Linked DNA regions of Homo sapiens: region 2 is linked to region 1. The links are contacts of gene promoters, found by promoter capture Hi-C in human tissues and cell types (Jung and others, 2019). All regions are on one chromosome and are shown on one strand. The core of a region is centred on a gene start or on the middle of the fragment in contact, and the rest is flanking DNA. Distances in the headings are between cores, read along the strand shown. Region 1 holds the start of OR1N2 (olfactory receptor family 1 subfamily N member 2). Region 2 has its middle 11 kb from the start of OR1J1.

Region 1 (5,446 bases), core at 1,199-3,698:
GCAAAGGTGGGGATCTTAGAGGTCAGAAATTAGTTCCCAAAGAGGAGAGATATTATTCACAAACACAAAACTTGCCTTTCCCAACCTTTGCCTTGGCACTAGAAATTGCAGCCGCAGATTGCTATGGTCAGGGCCAAGTCACCTAATTCAAGGCTAAGATGGTCTTGTCTGGTTTCCTTAGTTGTCTCATTATTCCTCTCTTCTATCCAAAGAGAAGGGACAGAAGGAGAGAGGTAGAATGACCAAAGAGCAATGCATGCTAGTGCCTGATCTTCCTTAAAGGAAGATCCTTAAGCAATATTTATTGTACAACACCAAAAGGGCATACCTTCCTTTATTAAAAAATTTGGCCCCGGATGAACTTGATCTCAGAGATCTGTTTCAGTGCTTCTTTTTCTCTGTGAGTTATCACTGCAACATTTTTTTGTGCCAACCCTCAAATTTCATTTCCTTTTTTGAAAAATATCTACATGTTTCAAAACATGTAGCTATAAAGAAGAAATTGATAACCTAGAATTTCATTGCAAAAAGAAAACCATTGTTAAGCTTTGTGACTTCTCATAATATCAGTTTCCACCAGATTGCTTTGCATCAAATTATTGCCCTAAAAATTTCCAGCATGCTTGATTTATCATTTTTGATTCTAGAATATTTTATGAAAGAATTCAGAGAACGGATGGTGTAGTTAGTACAAATCTGGCACTAGTAGGTGTACAACAAATATTGATTACTTTTAATCTATTTACTACAACAGAAGAGTGCTTTTAAGTTAAAGAAATGAAATAGTAAGGAATACCATAACATATATTAATTCTTTTTCTCCTATTGTTATCATTCAATATTAACCTTAGATGTACACTCACACCTTCCTTGTCATGATCCTCACAAAGTGGTAAAATAGAAAGGGAGTCGATAGGCATAAATTGACTTGTTAAGTTATTTAGCATCCTAATTCACAGTTTTCACAATTCTACCTAAAGTAACTGATGTAAGGAATAATGAGGAACATTGTGGATAGTCAATAAATGTTTCTATTCTCCTTCCTTCACCTCATCCCATGCCTGCCTTGCTGGGGTAGAATTGCTCAGCTCCAGAGCCTCATAACAAATGCCTTGTTCACTATGGCTAATATGCTGGTTTTAGAGATGTGAGGAGGAATAGTAGTTTTGCTGTTAGTAATGGTTGCCTCACTGGGGTCAGGAAAGAGGCTGAGACAGAACATCTCATTCCACAGCCTAATAAAAGAATGAAACACTCTTTTTTTTTTTTTTACATCCCTAACTCAGAGTCAACGGATAACCTTCCCCTAATATCAACATGACAGTAGTAGAATTACTGAAGTGATGGAAGACAGGGAGGGGTTGATCAAGATTAGACATCACCGTCTAGATGTCTAATCATAAAAAGAATGTTTTTCCACTGACAAAAAGTTTACCCAAAGCCTCCTTCATGTCTCTGTTCCTCAAGCTATAAATGAATGGGTTTAGCGTGGGAATAATCACCATATAGAGAACAGCAGCCCTACTTTCCCTCTCTGTAGAGTAAGTTGATGGAGGAAGTAAATACACACCCATAAGAGACCCATAGAAGAGCAGAACCACCGTGAGATGAGAACCACAGGTAGAGAAGGCCTTCCATCTCCCTCCAGGAGATGAGATGACAAACACAGCCCAGAAAATGCGGACATAGGAGAAGACGATCAGCAGGAGGGGAACAGTGAGGAACAGCAAGCCCATGGTGATGATCATCAGCTCGTTTACATGGGTATCTGAGCAGGCAAGCTTCAGGAGAGCACTAGGATCACAATAGAAATGAGGGATGGCTTTCTGGGCACAGAAAGCCACGCGGGTCAGCAACAGTGTGTGCATCAGGGCAGGACAGTTGGTTAGCACCCAGCACACACCCAGCATTAGTGCACAGAGCTGGGGACTCATAGATGTGCTGTAATGGAGTGGTTGGCAGATGGCCACATAGCGGTCATATGCCATCACAGCCAGCAGGCAGTTGTCAAGGCCACCAAACATAAGGAGGAAATATAGCTGTGCAAGACACCCAGAATACGAGATGATCTGACTCTGGGTATGAATGTTGGCCAGCATTTTGGGGATGGAGGCAGAAGTGAAACAGGCATCAGTTAATGACAGGTTGGCCAGAAAGAAGTACATGGGAGTATGGAGGTGTGGGTCAGAGCTGATGGCCAGGATAATGAGCAGGTTCCCCACCATGGTGACCAGGTACATGCCAAGGAAGATGCCAAACAGAAGAGGCTGCTCCTCTGGCCACTCAGAGAGTCCTAGAAGGAGGAAGTCTGAAACAGTGGTTTGGTTCACTCTGCCTGGTTTTCCCATCCCTTGTAGTTCGTGTGATCTGCGCAGATAAAAACCTTCCATGTGTCAGTATTTATTTATTAGATCAATTTACAGATATGCATCTGTGTGGCCAGAACTGTGCTGGGAGAAAAAGAAAAGAAAAATAAATGGTCTTTGCCAATAAGAATCTCTGAATCTCACTGGGAATGCAAGGAAATACCCAAGAGACATTTAGAGAACAGTTAAGATAATATCCATTCAAATCTCAATTGTGCTTTGTATGCTATAGCAGAATCCAAAGAAAAGAGATTTGTTTGACCAGAGAAATTGGCATGGGCTATTTAGAGGAAGTGAGAATTGAGAATAGCTTGATGGCAAGATTAGAAAAGCCATTTGTTATTGTCAATTGGAAAGAAGATGCATGATCTCCATCAAACTCCTACCCCTCCTCCAACACACACACACACACACACACACACACACACACACACACACACACACTCAAGCCCTCTTTGTGGGGGCTGAAATTGACTTTTAAGACAAGATAGCTTCCTCCCCACTTGCCTTTCAGTGCTGAGAATTTGACCTCACCCATTCAAACCAGTCCTGTACTCTTTCCTAACTAGCGGCAAAGGATATGTGAGCTGAGGGCAGTAGGTGTCTGGTGTCGTACTCCCCCATCCACTGTTAGGATGTTCCCTCCCACACACACGCATACAAATAGGACAGGGAGCCACTCTCTCCCTTCCATCACTTCCTCTCCTTTATCCCTGTCCTCTTCCCTTTTTTGCTGCTATGCATCTCTATCTGCTCTGGGAACTGATATTTTAGTTCACCTGTGCCTTCACCCCTACATTTGTACTACATTTATCTAATATTTACTTTTAACCAGAGGGAGGGAAGGTGAAAGGTATCGCCCTGACTTTTTGGTTTGAAAATAACCAGTCTGTTTTTTTGCTGCCCTAGTGAGCTGGTAGGAGAAACCATTTCATATTGATCTTGTAGAAGTTTGGCCTTAGAAGCTTTTGTAACTATTTTAGTCCTCCATTTGTTCTTTGGTTCATAGAGAAGCTTCTGACCTTAGGCAGAGACTCAGCACTTTCCCAGGAAACTTTTGCCTGGTCACCTGATCATCGAACTGGGAAGGAAGGTGTATATGTGTGTGTGTGTGAGAGAGAGAGAGAGAGAGAGAGTGTATGTGTGTGTGTGTGTGTATGTGTCCTACCCCTTCCAAATCCTCACCTGTCAGATTATGGATCAGTTTTAGGCATCTTCAAATTCTCCAATTCTCTTCCTTGGATGGATAATTCATAATAAAAAACTCTGAGACCTTTCTGACTCAGAGGCAATAAAGTCGGGGTCTATTGAGTCCAGAGTTTATTAGAAATACCTGAAGTGTATGGCTCGATTTCAGCTTCCCCGGGCATAAGAAGACAGGAATATCTCTTAAGGTTATAAAGGCTCCTAGAACACCATCTCCCAATGTGCTCGTTAAGGTCGACCTCGGTGTCATTGTGCAGCCTGTTCTCCAGCCAACTCTGGCTGGATCCTAGGGGAGCTGAGGACCTCTCTTTCCCAGGGGTTAAGATCTCAAATGTGGGTCTCGGGAATGTGATTCTGAAGCCTCTTGCTGGCAATGCAGTGTACTTCAGCCTGACTAGCAGGTCACCTGGGAACTCCTGCCTATATGCATTAGGCAAGTCAGCACTTGTCCCATGTCCTAGGTAAAACTGCATTGAAGAAGAAATCAGGAGTATAAACTAAAACACAACTATTTCTGCTGGCGATTTCCTTAAAGAGAATAATCCTGATGGAAACAATACCCTCAAAAACTCCAAAACTCAATTAATGAGGCAACCTAAATAAAGCACACCAGCCATAGTGCCTCATACAAAGCAGCTGCTCAAAAAAAGCTACTTATATCTACTGTATTTTAATTAATTCTATTAAGTGGAGAGAGTGGAATCCCCACCTAGGTCTGTAATGACTCTGGAGTACATGCTATTATCCACTATGCTTTGTTCTAGTATCATTGTTGGTTTCAATCATAAGCAATTTCATAGGTCTAAAATAATCCAACTTTTTGTAGCTATTGTAAATGGGATTGAGGTCTTGATTTGGTTCTCAGCTTGATTGTTATTAGTGTGTAGAAATGCTACTGATTTTTGTACATTAATTTTGCATCATGAAACTTTACTCAATTCATTTATCAAATCTAGGAGTCTTCTGGAGGAATCTTTAAGGTATTCTAGGTATTAGATCATATCATCAGCAAACAAAGATACTTTGACTTCCTTTTTCCAATTTGGATGTCTTTTTTTTTTTTCCCTGATTGTTCTGGTTAAGGACTTCCAGTTAAGACTTCCAGTATCATGTTGAATAGGAGTGATGAAAGTGGTCATCTTCGTCTTTCTCTAGTTCTTAGGGGGAATGCGTTCAGCTTTCCCCCATTCAGTATTATGCTGGCTATGGGTTTGTCACATATGGCTTTTATTATATTTAGGTATATTCCTTCTAGGCCTAGTTTGTTGAGCATTTTTATCATGAAGGGATATGGAATTTTATCAGTTGCTTTTTCTATATCTATTGAGATGATTATAAGGTTTTTATTTTAAATTCTGTTTATGTGGTGAATCACATTTATTGATTTGTATATATTTCACTATCCTTGTATTCCTCAAAAAAAAAACCCACTTGATCATGGTGTATTATCTTTTTGATGTGCTGTTGGATTCAGTTTGCTAGTATTTTATGGAGAATTTTTGCATCTATTGTCACCACAAATATTGGTCTGTAGTTTTCTTTTTTGTGTGTCCTTATCTAGCTTTGATATCCAGGTGATACCTGCTTTGTAGAATGAATTAGGGAGGATTCTTTCCTCATTGATTTTTTGGAAGAGTTTCAGGAAGACTGGTACCAGTTCTTTGTATGTTTGGTGAAATTCAGCTGTGAATTAAACTGATCCTGGGCTTTTTGTTGTTGTTGTTGGGAGATTGTATGATTCAATCTCACTACTCAGTATTGGTTTATTTAGCATTTCTACTTGTTCCTGGCACAATCTTCGGAGATTTTATATTTCAAGAATTTATCCATTTCCTCAAGGTTTTCTCATTTGTGAATTCATAGTTGTTTATAGT
Region 2 (5,572 bases), core at 1-2,500, 63 kb after region 1:
CCATTCCCACCTTTTATTTGCATTGCTCCTAGTCATGTCACCGAAATCCTCATTATTACTAAATCCAATGAATGGTTTCAGCACTTAACCTTGGCTCTACATTTTTATATTCTCCTTCTCCATCTCTGGTTGTTATTTGATGTCTTTTGGGGGCTTTATTTCTCTGCTACTATCTTAATTGTCAATGTTCCCTGTGGTCTGTCCTCAGCAACTATTCCCTTCCCTTTCCTTGCTTTTCTCCCTTCTCCTTTCCTCTTCTCTCCTCCCTTTCTCTCCCCTCCTTCTTCTTTTTCCTCAGCTTTTACTAACCTCATTTGTTTTCAGGCAATCTCATCCTCCTCTATGTTGACAGTCCATGAATTTCTATCTCTATCCAAAATATATCCACCTGCCTACTAAATTTGTCTCATGGATGACCTATAGGTACCTCATACTCTATGCAATACAACTTCTCAAATCTTTTTCTTCTATATTGCCTTCAGTGAATAGCACAACCATACACTCAGCTGTCCAAGCCATAAATTTAGAGAGGTTTTCAACTCCTTTGTTCTCCTTATTTTCTACATTCTTATCAAAATCAACTCACATCAAAATTACTATATCCATTAGATTCTGACTACGGAGACTTAAATCAATATAGTTCTAACATCATGGTCACTCTCTTATACACACTTTCATAATCTCTTACCTAAATGACTGTCATCTTCTCCTAATGAGTCTCTTTGCTTCTGGTCTTGCATTCCACTACCCCATGCCTGCTCTGCCAACATGTCCTCTGCCCACTGCAAACACATGCTCATTATCCACTCCTGAACTATACCAACTGTGTTTAGTATGATTGTCAATCTGCTGATCAAGTCCTTCCATGGCTCTTTCTTTCCTTTTGAGTAATATGCAAATTCTTCAATATGGCTTCTAAGGTCCTGCATGATTTATTCCTTCTAGTTTCTCTGGACTCATCCTGAACCTCTTCCCCTGTTCAAGTGTACATTTTAGCCACTCTAATTTTTCTGACAATTGTTTCCTAAATTTGCCATCCTTTCTCTTCTGTAGGTCTTTTCCTATTCCTCTGTTTCTCTCCCTTTCACTGCTCTGCCTCTATGTTGTTGACATCACCTTCTACTTGTTTTGATTTTCTTGAGTTTCTGCTTACTTGTAACTTTCTACAAGCCTACTTGCTGTTCTGTGTGGGAAACGCATGAGGGGAGAAGAAAAGACACACACAAAATACCTTTAAGGGTAAACAAGCTTTATCCCACGTAAATGGCAATGCAGATATAACAAGCCAATGATATAATAAGCAAATTGATATAATAAGCAAGTTGCAATGGGAAGGGGATAAAGGAAAAGAGATATATATATATTTACACTCACCACCCCACATTGGATGGGGAGATGCATTTGGGGATGGCCATTAATTCCATTCACCATCTGGGATAATATTCCCTCCCCAGTAATCTAGATGCTTACAAACATCACTGGTTATGAATGTGCCAGACTCCCTGATGATGGTACCCTATCACAGTATTCTCCCCTGCCACCAGTACAATCCTGCTTCAGCAACAAATTAAAATATTAAGCTTACATGTAGAAAAAGCTCTTAATGATAGTAGCACTGGACTTATGTTATCAGATGAATTTGCTCAGCCGTGCACTGTTGTGTTGCAAAATCGAGAGGCATTAGATATGCTTACCACAGCCCAAGGAGGGGTTTGTGCCTTACTGCATACTAAATGTTATGTGTCTATCCCTGACAATTCTCACAATATTACTCTCCTTGCAAAGCTATCGTAGGTGTGGTTTTTATTAATTGCGTTTTTAATTCTCCTGTGCTTACCATGTATCTGTAATCTATCAACTGTGCCTTCCCCATGTATCTGTAAGGGTATTTTCCTACAACTGAGTATCAAATTGAGGCCCAATGTGGAGAAAAAGTTAAATATTAAATTTGAACTCAATTGAACGTGGACACAAACAATGGTCACCAAGTCCGGGAACAGGTTGTGTGAGCCCCTTGAGGCATTCATCCAGCACTGTTTCGGAGAAATCTCTATTTCAATCTATTCCTATACATTGGTTATTGAAAAACAATAGATAATTGCAAAAACAAGTTGATCTTTTTGTGTTCCTTGAGCCCAGTCGCAAAGGGCCCTCGTCACTGGGCCTCATGCAAAACAACTTCTTACAAAAAGAGCTAGGGTCCCAGACCCTAGCACCGAAGCTTCATGAAACCTCTCCTTGTCTGTGCACGGACAAGTGGCCGACTCTGGAGCCCAGGCTGTTTCTTCCCAGTCTGGTGGTGAATCCTCCACAGTCTGGTGAGTTTTGTATCTGACTCTGGAACCCAGGCTGTTGCTTTCCAGTCTGGTGGTGAATCCTCCGTAGTCTGGCGAGTGTAAATATATATATATATATTTATATATGGAATAAAGGAATGGTGTGTGTGTCTTTTCTTCTCCCCTCATAAGTTTCCCACACAGAACACTTGCTTGATGCCTTTAATTTGGGTTTGATGCCCCCCTTTGTGTTCCCACAGCACTCGGCTCTTACCTTCATTACAGTGTCTGATGTGGACGGTTTTGTCGATCTCATTCAATGGATTGGGAACTCTTTGGGGACAGAAAATTGTGTTTTCCCATGGACACAGAGATGGGAACATCACACACCAGGGCCTGTCAATGGGTGGGGGGGTTAGGGGAGGGATAGCATTAAGAGAAATACCTAATGTAGACGATGGGTAATGGGTGCAGCAAACCACCATGACATGTGTATACCTATATAACAAACCTGCACATTCTGCACATGTACCCCAGAACTTAGAGTATAATAAATTTTAAAAAAAGAAACTTGTGTTTTCTTTACTTACAGTGCCTCACAAAATTCTTGCCACATCATATTTATACAATATTCTTCTGAATGAGTAAATGAATGCACAAATTATTCAAAGAAATAATGAAAAAAGCAATCTCCTCCACTTAATTCTCCGTCTCTTTTATATTTTTGCCAACCTGAATGTAGCAGGTTTCTGAAGATTCTCACACTCATTTTTATGGTCAAAGAATACTTTTTGAGCCCTGAGTCTGTTCCAACTATTATTATGTGTCATCACTAACCAAAAATAAATCCTGCATGTATTCAGGTGTTTCCCATGAGGAAAATAAATCTCTAGTCCTTGAAAAGTGTTCTTAATCCTCAGGGACTAGTAACACCTCTCCTTCCAGTTCCAAATTGAATGTGGGAAGGAGGAAGTCTGTATAGGCCAGGAGCGGTGGCTCACGCCTATAATCCAGGCACTCTGGGAGGCTGAGGCGGGCAGATCACCTGAGCTCAGGAGTTTGAGACCACCCTGGGCAACATGGCAAAACCCCATTTCTACTAAAAATACAAAAAATTAGCTGGACGTGGTGGCACACACCTGTAATTCCAGTTACTTGGGAGGCTGAGGCATGAGAATCACTTGAACCCAGGAGGCAGAGGTTGCAGTGAGCTGAGATCATGCCACTGCACTCCAGCCTGGGCAACAGAACTGTCTCAAAACAAAAATAAAACAAAAACAAAACAAACAAACAAAAAACCCAAAAGAATTATTTAAAATATAGAGCTCACTAATATAAGGGAGGCAACATGGAAGAAAGCCTAGAATGAAACCAGGCTTTAGGTTTGAAGTTAATGTGTTTATGTTTGAATACTCATTTAACCATTTACTTTTGAGACATTGTCAAACTCAATAAATGGGAAAAATACTATCTACATCAAATATTATTGTGATGCTTAAAAAATCTTATAGATGTGAAAGTTCTTTATAAATAAAAAAAATCTGTACATAATAAAAGTTCTTATTTATATTCCCATAGGAGTTGACTGTCCTTGGTGTCCGGCAAAGGCACATTTCAACTGGGAATATTAAGGGAAATACAGTAATTAGCCCCTAACTGTGTCTCACCACAGACTTCTGGCACCAGTCCCCTGGGTTCCCATCCAGGCAGGTAAAGGGAGATACTCTTGCTGTAGCCTTGTGGCTGGTGAAAAACAAAGAATGTGCCTCTTCTCCACTTCAGGGTTGAGCTCATGACTTTTCTCACTGTTCCAGCTCTAAGACTTTTGGAGAGAAAATGAATGATTGGTTCATACCAAGGAGCTGACAATATTTGAATTTATCACTGAACTAGGTAAGACCAATGCTTACAGACTCCATTAAGCAGTTTGTGTGTGTGTGTGTGTGTGTGTGTGTGTGTGTTAATCATCTCCTCCAAAATCTTGCAGATGAGTACACATGTGCCAGGTGGTTTATATAATTTTTGTATTACATCAAATAATTTAGGGTGGACATCATTATTATTATTCTCTGGTGTTTGTACTTTCCTCTTTAGGAAAATGTTCTCTCACAGTTTTGCTGAATATCTGGCCTGCATCCCAGCTATGAGCACATTCTTCAAGGTTTAAAAAATAATAATAATCTGCATTTTTATAAATAGTTATAAACATACCTACATGCAATTTCCTATTATGTCCTTTAAAAATTATATCATAAGCTTTTAATGAATTTATTTTATTGACTACATATTCTTTTCAATAATGTGTACCATAGTTGCCTTAACCTTTCCCTTACTGATGGAATATAGGTATCAACAACAACACTGGCCAGGGTCTTATTTGTTTTTTTCCTGGGACCCCGAGAAATTTACTTTCTGGGAAGCTGCCTTCGTAAATCCAGTAACTGATTTCCTGGTTTCTCTATTCTCTTCTGATCATCTGATTAAAGACTGAAGCAATACATCTATGCAAAGGCTTTTAAGAAATTACAGATTCCACCTCTTTAATGACAGGTGCATATCCAGATGTCTTTTCCATCAATGCTCTGCTGGAGGCAATACGACATGATGATTAGCAGCATGAGTTTGAAATCAGACAAACACAGGATTGAATGACCTCCCCATCATTTTCATGATGTAGAATTTTAGGCAAATTATTTATACTCTGTAAACCCTACTTTCCAATTGGTTAGATGAGAATAATGCCATTTTGTGATCCTGTTAGGCTGATATGATATAAATTGCATCACAGCAGCTGGCCTATATTATTATTCACACAATAAATATGTGATTAATGAATGATTGCTATTCTAATTTTTATTATCAGTATTACTGACATCACCATCATGGCACAAATCTTGAAACTATAGATTTTTATTCATCCTTAAACTCTCCAATTTACTTCATGAAATTCTTGAGTGCTCTCAGGCAGCAAATATTGTCCTATTTGAAGATATATTTAATAAGGGCTTTTAATAGAGTGGGAAGAATATAGTCTTTGAAGCCAGATGGACCTGCTATCAATTCCCAGGCTCACAATATACTAGTGCTATAATACTGGGCAAGTTTCATCACTGAATCCCAGTGTTCTCCTCTCCAAAGTGAGGATCAGAATGCCTACATTGGCTGGGCACAGCGGTTCATGCCTGTAATCCCAGCACTTTGGGAGGCCAAGGTGGGTGGATCACTTGATGTCAGGAGTTCAAGGCCAGCCTGGCAATATGGTGAAACCCCCTCTCAACTAAAAATACAAAAATTGG

Evidence for each region. The method cuts DNA at HindIII sites, captures the fragments that hold promoters and counts their contacts. A contact is called where the count stands out against the background at its distance.
Region 2: a fragment that was not itself captured here is called in contact with the fragment with the promoter of OR1N2 in region 1 in 8 of the 25 tissues and cell types used here (H1 embryonic stem cells, dorsolateral prefrontal cortex, heart left ventricle and 5 more).

What each region holds. Positions count from the first base shown.
Region 1 is chr9:122,550,114-122,555,559 of GRCh38, reverse strand. OR1N2 (olfactory receptor family 1 subfamily N member 2) reads right to left here and starts at 2,448. Exons shown (of 1, transcript NM_001004457.2): 1 at 1,346-2,448. The coding sequence starts at 2,348. The coding sequence ends at 1,398. It also overlaps a transcript of OR1J2 not described here and a transcript of OR1L8 not described here. The HindIII fragment of the contact is 3,656 bases long and covers 1,165-4,820 here.
Region 2 is chr9:122,486,124-122,491,695 of GRCh38, reverse strand. It overlaps a transcript of OR1J2 not described here. Among named protein-coding and RNA genes, the nearest start is that of OR1J1, 11 kb to the right of the region's middle. The HindIII fragment of the contact is 4,254 bases long and covers 1-3,377 here.